Linked DNA regions of Homo sapiens: regions 1, 2 and 4 are each linked to region 3. The links are contacts of gene promoters, found by promoter capture Hi-C in human tissues and cell types (Jung and others, 2019). All regions are on one chromosome and are shown on one strand. Each heading gives the region's core, a stretch centred on a gene start or on the middle of the fragment in contact. The rest is flanking DNA. Distances are from core to core; before and after follow the strand shown.

The links. Contacts are between HindIII fragments. The study calls those that stand out against the background at their distance.
Region 1: a fragment that was not itself captured here is called in contact with the fragment with the promoter of UVRAG in region 3 in 1 of the 25 tissues and cell types used here (dorsolateral prefrontal cortex).
Region 2: a contact is called between a fragment that was not itself captured here and the fragment with the promoter of UVRAG in region 3, in 1 of the 25 tissues and cell types used here (dorsolateral prefrontal cortex).
Region 4: a fragment that was not itself captured here is called in contact with the fragment with the promoter of UVRAG in region 3 in 1 of the 25 tissues and cell types used here (dorsolateral prefrontal cortex).

Annotation. Positions count from the first base shown.
Region 1 is chr11:76,097,360-76,100,815 of GRCh38, reverse strand. All of the region lies in intron 13 of UVRAG (UV radiation resistance associated), which reads right to left. Among named protein-coding and RNA genes, the nearest start is that of WNT11, 110 kb to the left of the region's middle. The HindIII fragment of the contact is 3,716 bases long and covers 146-3,456 here.
Region 2 is chr11:76,203,588-76,206,852 of GRCh38, reverse strand. WNT11 (Wnt family member 11) reads left to right here and starts at 351. Exons shown (of 5, transcript NM_004626.3): 1 at 351-528. The coding sequence starts at 446. RefSeq lists a silencer at 199-438. The HindIII fragment of the contact is 7,202 bases long and covers 1-3,265 here.
Region 3 is chr11:75,813,941-75,817,126 of GRCh38, reverse strand. It overlaps UVRAG (UV radiation resistance associated), which reads right to left and starts at 1,917. Exons shown (of 15, transcript NM_003369.4): 1 at 1,603-1,917. The coding sequence starts at 1,719. UVRAG-DT (UVRAG divergent transcript) reads left to right here and starts at 2,330. Exons shown (of 2, transcript NR_144531.1): 1 at 2,330-2,664. RefSeq lists a silencer at 1,594-1,793 and enhancers at 2,089-2,383, 2,254-2,683, 2,607-3,186. The HindIII fragment of the contact is 17,046 bases long and covers 1-3,186 here.
Region 4 is chr11:76,130,752-76,133,917 of GRCh38, reverse strand. All of the region lies in intron 14 of UVRAG (UV radiation resistance associated), which reads right to left. Among named protein-coding and RNA genes, the nearest start is that of WNT11, 74 kb to the left of the region's middle. The HindIII fragment of the contact is 7,935 bases long and covers 1-3,166 here.

The sequences.
Region 1 (3,456 bases), core at 754-3,253, 280 kb before region 3:
ACATGGACACAAAGAGGGGAACAACAGATACTGGGTTCTACCAGATGATGGAAGGTGGAAGGAGGGAGAGGAACAGAAAAAGTACTATTGGGTACTAGGCTTAATACTTGGGTCATGAAATAATGTGTACATCAAACTCCTGTGACAAGAATTTACCTATATAACAAAACTGCACATGTACCCCTAAACGTTTTTTCTTTTAAAGAATGTTGTTTAAACTGCTAAATTTGTGGTAATTTGTTATAAAGCACAGAAAACTAATTCAAGTGAAAAAGATTATATCTACCTTTTACCTGAAGATATTAGGAGAGAATTCATGGGGAGAACATGGCCTAAGCAGTTCACTGATGGACAGGTAATATTTAGATGAGGTAAGCCAGTGGAGAGAGTTTCTGGAATTTCATCAACACTTCCAATAAACATTTTTGTGTATCTACTATGTGTCAGGCACAATGGGGTTAGTCCTTAACAATAGTATAGAGGTTTTTAGTTAGCAGATATTTTGAACATTAAACATATTAGGACACACTCCCCAGGGGCTAATTTAAGTGCTCAGGGGAAAGGGTTAGCAACACTGAAGAATCATTTCTGACTTTATCTCCTTTTGGAAGTGTGAGTTTTTGTTCTCCATAGATTATAGTTCTCTAAAATATTCTGGAAGATTTTTGTCAGGGTAAGAGCCAAATTTGGATGTTTAAGCTTATGGAAAGCAGACTGGACAATTAAAAAACACATTGTGATTTTGTTTATCAAATTGGGAATGCGTAACATTATATATAATAATCCATTTCAAGTATAATGGTCACAAGTCAAAAATCACAGCATAAGACAGAGATGTTCACTACTACCATAATCAGTTAATACTAATTAGGTAAGAAAAAAAGTCTAGAGCTATAAAAATTGGAAAATAAGAGGCAAATGATCATTTTTAATAGATATGATTATACATTTAGAAAGTCCATGCAAACCAAATGAAAACTCATCACAAACAATAAAATACTTCAATACAAAATTGAAAAACAAAAATCAATGATTTTCCTTTATATAAATAACAATGAATTAGAATATTACGTGGTGCTATTTTAAACAGAAACAAAGATAAAATACCTGGAAATAAACATAACCAAAATAGCAAGATCTATATGAAGAAAACTTTAATATTCTATTGAGGGATGTAAAAGAAGATATTAGTAAGTGGAAACTCATATCCTATTCTTGAATAGGAAGACCTGTTACTATAAAGATGACATTTCTCTACAAACTAACCTATACATTTACTATAATCCTACTTAACATACAAATAGGATCTTTTTAGAACTAGAACACTTATTCCAAAGTTTAGTCTTGTTTTAGTAAATAAAGCATTTTCTATTGATTAGGCCCTGTTTTAAGTACTTTACAAATATTAATTCATTCAATTATCATAAGAACCCTAACAAAGCAGGTACTGTTATTTTCCTCGTATTACAGATGAAAAAATGGAGGCACAGAACAAGAAAATAATTTGCTCCTATGATCCCTACACAAGACCTACAAGACGACTGTAAATGCTTCAATGACAGAGAATTTATTTTACTTACTGTTAAATGCCCAGCAGCTAATATCATGCCAAGTGTGTGGTAGTTAATAGACTTTTTTGGGGGAACTGCACTGCAAATTGCAAGGGTGAAATCCACATTTCCTTATTTGATGAATACATCCTTGTTGGAAAAGCTTTCTTGAGGTGTTAGGACCTAAGCCATTATCTGAAAGAAGATGAGCTGAATGCATTAACAACTGGGAAAGGAGGCCAGTGAGTGGAGACTTAGAAAGACTCTAAGCAAAGTTCAGAGGCAGGTAAGCATGTATGATGAACGTGTGTGGATGCATGTCTGGGAGTAGTGGACTGGCTGAGGAACCATTTTATTTAATTTCGAACAACAGAGCAGGAATACAATTTTGTTTGCATAAGGTGCTTTGAAAATGAATTTTATATAATGTGTGAATCACCTATGCAGGCATGAACAATTTTGGACAACTGTGTTGGGGGTACGAAAAAAATCAGCATAAATTTGTTTTAGGTGTATTAAAATTTCCATCAAGGATCTGGTAAATGAGGGCTCCATTTGGTATTTAAATATTACTCTTTGTGCTATTCATCTTTGAGCACATTATGATACAAAACTACCCCCATCAAATCAATCAGCTTTTCCAAGGACTGTGCCACACTTATTAAACAATGATGTGGTCTTCTATCTTCAAACTGCCACTTACACATTAACTTCCTAGCTAACTCCAAAAATTCTTGACTGAAAAACAATCTAATAAAAAGCCATTTTAAAATATATGAGATGGTACAGGAGAAGGAACAACAAAATGAAAGGGTCTTTGGTTGGCATCTAGGTTTGCGAGTTACTCTCTGTATGACCTTGGGCAAGTCTCTTACCCCCGCCTGAGCCTCTGGCTCATATAACAACACCTGCTTGACAGAATTATTGTGTGGATTAATTAAAGTAATTTTTGGAAAACTCCCGACACAGTCTGTGAGTTCTAAGTATCTTACAAATGTTAGTTATCTTCCTTTTCCCTCAGTAGCTATTCCTAAGGACACTGTTTCTTAAACTAAACCATTAATGCTATACCTTATTTTTCTACTTAATTTATTATTAATTTTTCTTTCTAACTTCTTTCAGTTAAGACTATATGTTGCTATTTTGGATCTCAACTGATTCAAGCGTGTCTAGAAGAGATAAGACTCACCAAAAAAACAAAAAAACAAACAAACAAACAAAAACCATCCGAGATGAACGATAAGATCCACAGCGTTTTGAAGATAAGAAATGCCAAATTTCTGTGGATGAAAGTAGATTAAAGTAATAGGGTTAGAAAATGGATAGAACAACAAAAATGGAATGATAGTGGCAGGGTTATCAGGTAGAGGATATAAAACTATAGGCGGTAAGGAGTAGACTTACATTTTGAACCTAAGTTCATCCATATATATGTTTAACAGAATGAATATATACACTTCAAATAGAATTTCAACTAGCTATATAAACTAGCTATGGTAACAACACTATTTCTTTTTGTTCCACCTTCAGTCTTGTATAGGCCCAAAGAAGACAAGCACCTAGAAGCATATATTCATTCAATCAATAGATATTGAACCCCTTCTATGAGGTAACAAAGATAAGGAAGAGGCAGTTCCATAATATAATAGAAAGACATTTAAAAATCAGAAACATAAGTACAGTAAAAACGAGTAAAGAACACATTAAAAATGAGTAAGGACCACATCAGAGGAATATACAGGAACGCAGAGAAGGAACACCTAAGTCTCAGTGAGACTAGAAGGTTCAGAAAAGAAGTGATAACCTGTCTGGACTGTGGCATACTAGCTGGATTTCAGTGAGTGAAAGGGCAGGGAGGCACAGTATTCCAGAGAGAGGAAACTGCATGTGCAAATCCCCAGAAGCA
Region 2 (3,265 bases), core at 3-2,502, 390 kb before region 3:
CCTCTGTCTCCGTGGCTCTCAGCCTTGTCCTCTGAGCGTCCTTCTCCCTCTCGCTGTGTCTGCCCGGTCTCTCCTGGGTCTCCGGTTCTGCCGCCTCCTGTCCCTCCTTCCGGCTGCCCCGGCCAGAGGGGCTCGAAGGCGCGTTGGGGCCCGGGGCCACGCTGGGAGACACGCCTTCGGCCGCGCCTAATTCGAGCCAGGCGCGGGACGCGTCCCCCGGCCGGGCGGAGCGGGAGGGGACGCCCGCCGCGCTCGGCCTCCCCGGGCCCCGACCCCTCCTTTGTAATTTGAATAAAACGCCTCCCCCGCCCGCGCGCCGCCTTAACCCGCCGCCTCCGCTCTCCCCGGCTGCAGGCGGCGTGCAGGACCAGCGGCGGCCGTGCAGGCGGAGGACTTCGGCGCGGCTCCTCCTGGGTGTGACCCCGGGCGCGCCCGCCGCGCGACGATGAGGGCGCGGCCGCAGGTCTGCGAGGCGCTGCTCTTCGCCCTGGCGCTCCAGACCGGCGTGTGCTATGGCATCAAGTGGCTGTGAGTAGGGACCCCGCGTCCACGCGCACAGGCCAGGGACTGGGGCGGCGGAGGGCGTTTTGGGGTCCCCTGGATGGGGCGAGCGCACCAAGACCCGGGAGCCTAAGCTGGCTTGGCGGTCGTGGGCAAGTCATCCCTCAGCCTCTGTTTCCTCCTCTGTAAAATGTCCCTGCCTCCCGCAGGCTTGCGAAAAGGGAGTGAGACGGGCGTGGACCACAATGGAAGCGCCTGGTCCTGTGCAGCTGACGGTGGCGCAAGGGCCACGGAGTTTCTGGCCACCTCCGCAGGGGCAGATGGAAAAAGACATTCTGTTCAGGGGGCGCAATCCAGAGCGGCCAGCCCAGGAGCGGTCCTTGTCCGTCAGTCTCCTTGACCCTAGCGGGAGTTCCGCTGAGACACTCCTGACCCCTCCACCTGGGCGACCTTGGGAAAGTGTCACTCTACTTCTTGGGGCCTCCTTGTCCTCCTCTGTCACGGGAGGGTGAGACTCCCCACCTCCCTCAAATCAGATGAGAAGAGGCTCCTGAAAGGACCTCAGAAGCTGTCAGATGCCACTGTGCACATGTGCAGGGCATTCCTTTAGATAGAAATTATTCACGCAGGGGTAGGAGGGAGAGAGAGGCTTGGTGCCGAGCTGAAGGGAGTGCCTGCTCAGGGGGCTGGGGGTGGTGAAGAGAGGAGTAAACACCAGCCCCTTCCCGGAGGAGCTGCGCTCTAAGTTGAGAGAGATAAGCCCAGGCTGTAAATAACTCCACAAGTGTCCAAGTGCCCGAGGAGAAACCAGAGCGGGAATCTGGAGGCCTAGAGGAAGGAAGCCCACCTGGTGGGGACACAGATGTGAGACACCGGGAAGCTTTTCCGAGGCTGTGCCTCTGGTGACTGAAGCGCTGCTGGGAGTTGGCTGGTTCGGGCAATGGAGAGGACGCTGTGGGCAGAGGGGCTCCCTGAGAGGGAAAGTCCAGGACAGGACAAGGGTCTGGAATCTGGGGCCAGGGCAGGGAGCCTGCAGATAAGACAGCAGGGGGCAGGTTGTGGGGGCTGGGGAGGGCGCTGCAAAGGGTTTGTGAATTAGTTGGAAGACAGGGTGATAGTGGCTGCGCCGCCAGCAAACAGTCTGGAGGTCACTGGCCCTGCCCCTTCTCAGGCCAAGTTATTGATTAATTGACGATTCGAGGAGGGAACCCCGTCTTCCTGCCTTTCTTGTTTACAAGAAGCCTGGTCTCAGCAATCTCCCAGCCCTGGGCACTAGCTTTTCCCAGCTGTCCCTGAGGAGTTCTGTGAGAAACCAGCCACCTTCCTTTTGCAATGGGGTACCCAGCACTGTTCCAGCTGGCAGGGACCTCCGATCAGCGAGTCCAAGCTCTCTCATCCACCGCCACCATTTTACAGATAAGGATACTAAGGTCCAGGGAAGGAGAGGATTGGCTGAAGGAGCGTCAGAGGCCTTGCAGTGGGCTTGGGTGTCATTTGCCGCCCATAAGAGTCCTGTGGGGTCACTGCCATCATCCCTGCTCCACAGTGGGAACACCGAGACCCTGCAAAGGGCATGATGCACGCAAGCCCCCACGCTGGCCTGTGGTGGGATGGACGGCTGGCTAAACCTGACGTCCATGTCCTCTGTCCCCACTGCAAAGTCAGGCTGCCACAGAAATGGGTACAACTCATTGTGTGCCTTAAATAAGCCCCCAGGCTCTTGGGGGAGATGGACATATAGAAATACAAAGTGGACTATGGTCTGTGTCCTAGCAGAGGGAGCATGGCAGCCCAGAGGAGGAGTGATCAGTTCTATCTAAGGGAGATGCATAGGCCAGGATTGGAAGGACAGGGAGGATTTGGATGGTCAGAGACGGAGTGCAAAGCAGGCGTCCTAGGCGGGAGGCACAGCACGAGCAGAAGCCTGGAGGCCGAACAGCGCATGCGGGGAGACCTGGAGAAACCAGGCACCACAAGAGCCTACTCCTAAGTGCCCCAGACGCTGCTCCGAGAGCTTGGGTCATGTAAGTTAGATCATACTGCACTCCTATGAGAAACTGATAGTCTAGCAATAGGGGATTAAAGTCTTGCTAGAGTTTAAGATAGAGGGGGAGGTGGGAAAAGGGGTGGAGTTTAAGAATAACAACGATCTGTGTATGCATGTGTATATATAGATACACGTGTGTAGGCCACGTGCATATATCTATGTATATGTACATATATGTCTACACACACATGGCCTCACTTTGTGCTAGGTGCCGTTCTAAGTGCCTTATGTATATTGTTCCATTTAAATATCCCAACCACCCTGTGAGGTGGGTGCTGCTATTACCCCCGTTGCACAGAAGAGGAAACAGAGACTGGGGCACACAGAGATGGGGGACTCTACCTAGCAGGGTGTCACAGCTCAGAGGTAGTAGAGGCAGGATTTGAGTTAAGCTGCCTAGCTCTGTGGACTGTTGGGCACAGGGAGCCCCAGCACAGCTGGGAGCAGGGAAGTGTTCAGTGAGGCTGGAAAGCCGGGGACTCACCCAGGAGCCTCCGCTGGCCTGGGCTTTGGAGAGTGAGCTGGAGATGAAAGGGGCACTTGGCACAGGAACTGAAAGCCAACATGGCCCAGTGGCCTGGAATGCTCACCTGGTGGGTGCCTGGGACGCAGGCTGAGCTGGTGGGATGGGGGCTGGGGAGAGGGGATCAGAACCTGGCTGCCCATAGAGGCACCTGCCCAGAAATAACCTGGGGATCCTTCCCTACCTTACCTCCA
Region 3 (3,186 bases), core at 668-3,167:
AGAGACGTGTCTCCCTCCCTAGCCAGACTTCTACCCTCTCCCTGTATCTCACAACACAATCCAAACCCCCACTACCCTCAAACTCCCACTATTCAGAAATTCCCTGCCAACAGCATCACAAAACCAGGGCACATGGTATCTTTTCAATCCTCTTCGGTAGTAGTCACACAAAAAGCCGTTGCTACTGTAAGCTCTTCTGCCTGCCTATTCAAAGGCAACCACAGTGGTTATTATCTCCAACTCTTCTCTTCCCTTTAGCCCCCGCCTCCTTTACTGCACTCAAATCCATTTCACTTTTCAACCACTCTCTCCCCTACAACCTCTCCCTTCCTCTTTCTGAATCCTTCCTAAGTCCCACTGGTAGCTGATGGAAAGTTGGAGGGGTGTATGAAAGAACTCACTCTGTCCTGTGTAAAGGTGGTGGAGGAAGGCTGCCCAAGTCTCAAGCACGTGCATGGCTGCAGAGTCAGACACTGGATTCTGCAACCCAGCCCCACCACTTACTAACTGGAAGGCTCTGGACAAGCCTCAGTTTCCTCAACTGCCAAATGGGGGTAATAAAAACAGCTATCTCACAGAGTTGTGAAAATTCAGTGAACTAATGGCCACTGAGCCCTTTGCACAAATCCAACACGGTAAGTTCTCAGTAAATGACAGTTTCTCTAGATCCTCTTCTTGGCAGGAGGAATAAAGGGAGAGGGTGAAAGGTATTCTTTAGGTCTCTTTAATGCTAAGATTCCTGCAAAATCTCCCCTTGGGGGACAGAAGGAAGGCAACCGATATAAGGAGGGAAGTACTCTACAGATATGTGAGTGAAACAAAGAGTTTTGTCACATCTCCAAAGTCAGTGTTTCCCCCTTCTTATCTTCCTACAACGCAGAGCCAAGAAGTCCTCAAAGCCCTTCCTAAAGGATGGAGGAACACATGAATATATACATCAAATCCTCCTTCCACAGAGACTCACTGAAGGGAATGAAGAAGGAAAAAGTCCTCCTAATTATTAAGATGCGTTCCTTGGGACTCGGAGAATTAGGAAGGAAACCCCCAAGTCTTGAATACATTTCTCTAAAGAGGCCGAATACTTAATAATCAGGGGAGATTAAAGCAAATGGTAGACACCCTAAAGTCTCCTCCAGGGCTCTTGCACGAAGAGTACAAACTGGTTTCTCCGTAAGCGGGGATGGCCAGGTGGGGAAAGAAAGGAAAAGTGCTTTCACTATGGCCCGTGGGACACAGGGGGTTCCCCGGGTCCCTTCCTGGGCGGAACGAGGGAGAGGGTCTGCGCGGGGCAATCCCCGGCTCCCTGCGTTGGGGGAGGCGGCCTCGGGCCGGGGCCCCAGGGACTTGAGCTGGCTGGCTGCTTGTCCCTTAACAAGCCCATCTCCTGTAACGGGATTCTCCTAGGACTCCGGGATCTCCCGGAGGTTCGGCCATCACTGGACCCCTCCCCGCACAAACCTCCTGACAGTCTTCCTCAGTCCCGCGAGCCCTCCGGGTCCCTGCTCTGGGTGTCCCGGCTCGCGGGGTCAGCCCGGAGCCAGCAAGCTCTCCACGCGGGCCTGCCCGGGTCCCTCCCGAGTGCTGCGAGCCGCGCGGGCTTACCTGCTGAGACGGCAGCTCCACATGCAGGGCCCGCGCGGCAGAACCGGGAGGCAGAGCAGCGGCCGGGCCCGGGGGTGGCTGGGGGACGGGGCCCCCGACCGACGCGGAGGCGCTCATCTCGATCCAGGGGCCGCCAAGCGGCGGGGCGGGCACTCTTCCGGCATCCGCCGCCGCCCCCTTGCCACCACCTACCAAGCCCCTGCAGCCTAGAAACCCGCCACCCGAGAGGCACTACTGCTCAGCCCAGACAGTAGCCGCCGCCGCTGCCGCCGCTGCCGCCGTTGCCGCCGCTGGCTAAGGAAGAGCCATATTACCGCAGTGCAACCCCTCCACCCCGCTGAGACCCGGAGCGCTCATTGGCTTAGCCCTCAAGGGGGCGGGACCCAACGGCAGAAAAGGGGCGTGCTATTGGGTAGAAGGTCTGTCCATCGCTGGCATTACTGGACTTGGGGGCGGAGGGACTCAAGGATGGCCTCAATTGCGTCTGTCAAGCCGGGGTGAAACCTGGGGCGTTGCTTCTTTTTTTCCCAGTCTAATTGGTTCTTTTACTACCAACGGGCAGAGTCTCCTGGTGGAGGCGGAAGGGCCATTGCAAGAGGTCGCTGTCAATTGTCAGTAAAGGGAAAGAGGGGTGGGGTCTTGATTAGGTAGAGCGCGCTTCTGGGCTCCGGTGTCACGTGCAGGAGGCGGGAGAGTCACCTGATTAGGGAGAACCGGTCTTCTGAGCCACTTCCGCCCTCACTGGTTGCCGTGGTAACAGGCCTCCGGTGGAGGGCGGGGACCCTCGGAAGCCAGCTGGGTGGCGATCGCTTGTCTGCCTTGGCAGGCCCCTTGTGCAGTCTTTTCCCGGCGTGAGCGTGCAGGGATTGAAAAGGAATGCTTTATGGTTCAGCAGAGAGCCACCACGCAGGATGCACTGGGACCTGAGAACCGTCGGGCAGTCCCACGAGCTCTTTCATGACCAGCTCCAACCGACAAGTACACGCCCCTTCGCACTCCACTAGCTAGTAAGCTGAGCTACAAGGTGTGCCAGGCACCCAGGACGCCGATTCACCGCTTCAGGTGGGCTGTTTGTGCTGTGTCCCCAGAAAGCCTTTGCTACTTATCCATCAGTCTTAGCTGGGGCAGGAGTCCCTTCTTCCAAAAGGCTTCTCTGAGCCTCTCTGGGACCTTGAGTTAGGAATTTTGACCCTACCGTGGGTCTGGATTATTCTATTAATTTTTTTTAACAGTGCCTCATTCTTTCGCCCGGGCTGGAGTGCAGTGGCAAAATCACGGCTCATTGCAGCCTCGACCTCCTGGGCTCAAGTGATCCTCCCACCTCACCCTCCTAAGTAGCTGGGAATACAGGCACATGCCACCAGGCCCAGCTAATTTTAAAATTTTTTTGTAAAGATGGGGTTCTGGCCATATTTCCCAGACTAGTCTCAAACTCCCAGGCTCAAGCGATCCTCCAGTCTCGGGCTCCCAAAGTGTTGGGATTACAGGCATGAGCCACCAGGCCTGGCCACATTGTCTTTTAACACATGTAAGCAGCCACCCTCCTTCCCACACACACACAAAATACTGTGAATTCTTCAAGCA
Region 4 (3,166 bases), core at 334-2,833, 320 kb before region 3:
AGAAAAAGACCCAAATCAATCAACAGATTTAATCTGTTCAATGTGAAACACAATCTTAGGTTTTTTTCTTTTTTTCTTGGGGACATGAGGTGGGGAAAGCTTTGAATAAAGTCAAAATGCTCAAAATTCCTCTGTTTTCATGATCTACCTACTGCTTAGGGACTAGAAGAACTTCCCAGAATCCTTTGAGGTACATTCCAATTGTCCCCAAACCCCTGATGCATCCTTGTTCTGCATGAATTTAGCTTCAGGAAGAGAGAATTTTTTAAGAGGGAGAAATTCTCTATTTCTCTGACTAAAATGAAGAAGACCATATTCAGCACTTTTATAACCATTATATAAATACCTTGCCATGCAAATACCTTGCCATGAAGCCAACCCAGGAACTGGTAGAGCCCAGTTTCCTCTACTCCACCATCCTTGCCCCCATCATTTCCCTCCTCTTCCTCTTGGTTTTACTGCCTGAAGCTGTAGCCTCCTTTTACAGAAAAGAGATTGGGAAAGAGAAAACAAGTTAAGAAAGCACCAGTCCAAAATGTGATTCCCATTTCCACATCTCCCATAGGTAATATTCCAGAGCTCCACATGTAGCTCCATCGTTAGGAAACACGAGACACTGATGATGCACCTCACTGCTCCCAACCTAGGTGTCCTCTTCTGTGAAATGGTTATAGCTACCAATAGTTACTGCAGTAAGGATTAAATGAGATATACAAGTAAAATTCCTAGTACAATGAATAAGTACCCAATAAATTATTAATAATAATAAAACGGCAACTAAAATTTATAAAGCGCTATGGATTAAGCACTCTGTTAACAGCTTTATACATGGTCTCATTTAATCCTTATGACATCTCTGTGAAGTATTACAAACATCATCCTCATTTTACAGATGAAGAAACTGAAGCACAGAGGTTAGGTAACTTGACCAAAGGTCATGAAGCCACTAGGTAGAAAGATGTGATTTAACCAAGCCGGTCTACCTAATTGTTAATTTCCTTCTCTCTCCCAGTCCCTAGGATCTTAAGTTTTTTGTTGTCACCAAAACATCTACATTTGATCTCTACTTCTACTTGAGGATGGGGTGAGAATGAGAAAAATTTTTAGGTTAAGTGGATTGGTATATTTTCCTTCTCTTCTCTTCCTGCCTACATTAAGTTTGTGTTGCTCTTTTGACTTTCTAAGACTTATACTGTTAGGCATTCTAAGCATCAGCTATGAGCAGAAATAAATTCTGCCACGAACTGATGTAAATGTGGAAACTTACAGGAAAAATGAAATAAAGAAAGCATGTAAAGATTTACCACATCAAGAGAGTTCTTGAAGCTGGGGTGAGGCTTTAACAATTTGAAACACTTTTTTTTTTCCTAATTCTCTTTCAGATTCACTTGTACTTGTTTTATCTGTCTACAACCAGGTCCCACACTGTAAAGTATGAGGACAGAGTACAATTCACAGTCTCAAATATGTGTCTTTCCCTCCCTACAAAATGTTTCCTCTGAGGGACATTACTAGATCACAGCTGGTCAAAATACTAAATCTTGATTGTCTGGCTCCCGGCCAAAATCTACAGCTACAACTCAGTGGAATAAGAATATTTAAAAAGAAAAAAAAAGACTTTTAAACAACATTTGATCTTCTTCTTTCTCCCTCCTTGTAGCAATCTATGACCTCATGGCAGTGAGACCTCTACATGGAGGTGTTTAAGTTGGTTTACGGCCACCAGAAATGTTTGAAGCTCTAGGTACTAGTCTGCGCCAATATCATGTCAACTGTGTTAAAAAGCAATAATAGTTTCTCACCTTCTTAAAGATTACTGCTTAAATAATGCAGAGCAACGACAGGCTTGCACAGAGTGCCAAAAGCGGGTTGCCAAGGCAAAGCTGAGGTAGAATTACGTCTTTTGGCAGCTAAGAAATTATGACATAAAGTTAGTTTTTTCAAAAAAACAACCTTCATAAATTAAGCTACTATCCTTTTTTCAAAATTCAGCAAAGGTTGGGATTTATCCTTCTTCTTTCCCTCTCTCAGATCAAGTAGGAGCTCAGAACCTCCTTTAGGGAAAGCCAAATTTAACAGCTAGATCTTATCTCCCAGGAGGTAGCTGGGGGTTAATAGTTTTAAGCATGCATTCTCCAGGCCACAGGCAAGCAATCCAAAGGCCTCTCACCATTACCAGATAAGTGTAAGTACTTAATCTTTGCCCTGGATGTTAACAAAAACATGAAACAAAATAAAAATAGAAACAATATTGGGCCAAAAGCACAGGCTGAAATCTGTGCCAATGGTCACTTTTCCCCCGGGGCTTTGCTTGGAAGGTTTCCTACCAAAGTCTGTCTAAATAAAAACAGAGTATAAAAAGGTATAACTGAACAAGGCAGCCTTTGGATTTTATTTAAACCAAGTAGTGATGGAAAGATGAATTGGTGAAAGAGAAAGTTCCACAGGCAAAAGACAAAATAAGCAAGCTGAAGAAATCCAGTTCACCAGGCTTTGTGATGTGAGGTCTTGGCCATCAGGCCTCCATGGCCCAGCTTGGGCCAGTGGACAGAGGATGAGGGGGTGCCTATTGCCGAGAGCCCATCTGGAGGCCAGCTCAGGCTCCAGGCTGAGCTCCATGGGATCAGGGAATACACAGTGATCCTCCACGGAGATAAAGAGAGGTCCTGGGAGGGGTCAAGTCAACCACTTCACTCATCAGCTTTCACTTTAAGAAATCATCATACAAATTAATGTAGTAAAATCACAGTCAGGCAACCAACATTATGAGGACTGTAAAATGGTCTGTAGAAACAGACATAGCCCATCTTGATGTCATTTATATAGGGCTTAAGTAACATCCTACACGAGAACATGGAAAGAACAGGAAAGAGATGCCAGGAATGATACCTGGGGACCCCTCGGAGTATCTGGACAACACTTGATACTTGGGAATAATAAACTGTTTATGCTGAAAACCAGGGAAAAAATGAAAAAAAAAAACAAAAAAACCCAAAACCTCTGCCTTTGCCAGGGAAACCAGAGGAACAACAATCTCACAGAACCCAGCCCCCAGAAGGAACTCGATAGGGAAATTAAAACCCTGGTCAGAGAATGCTTTCAGAGTTTAAAAACTAGACTTGGAAGGGAGCTAAAGGATGCATTAGACTCCCAGGGCCAGTGACAG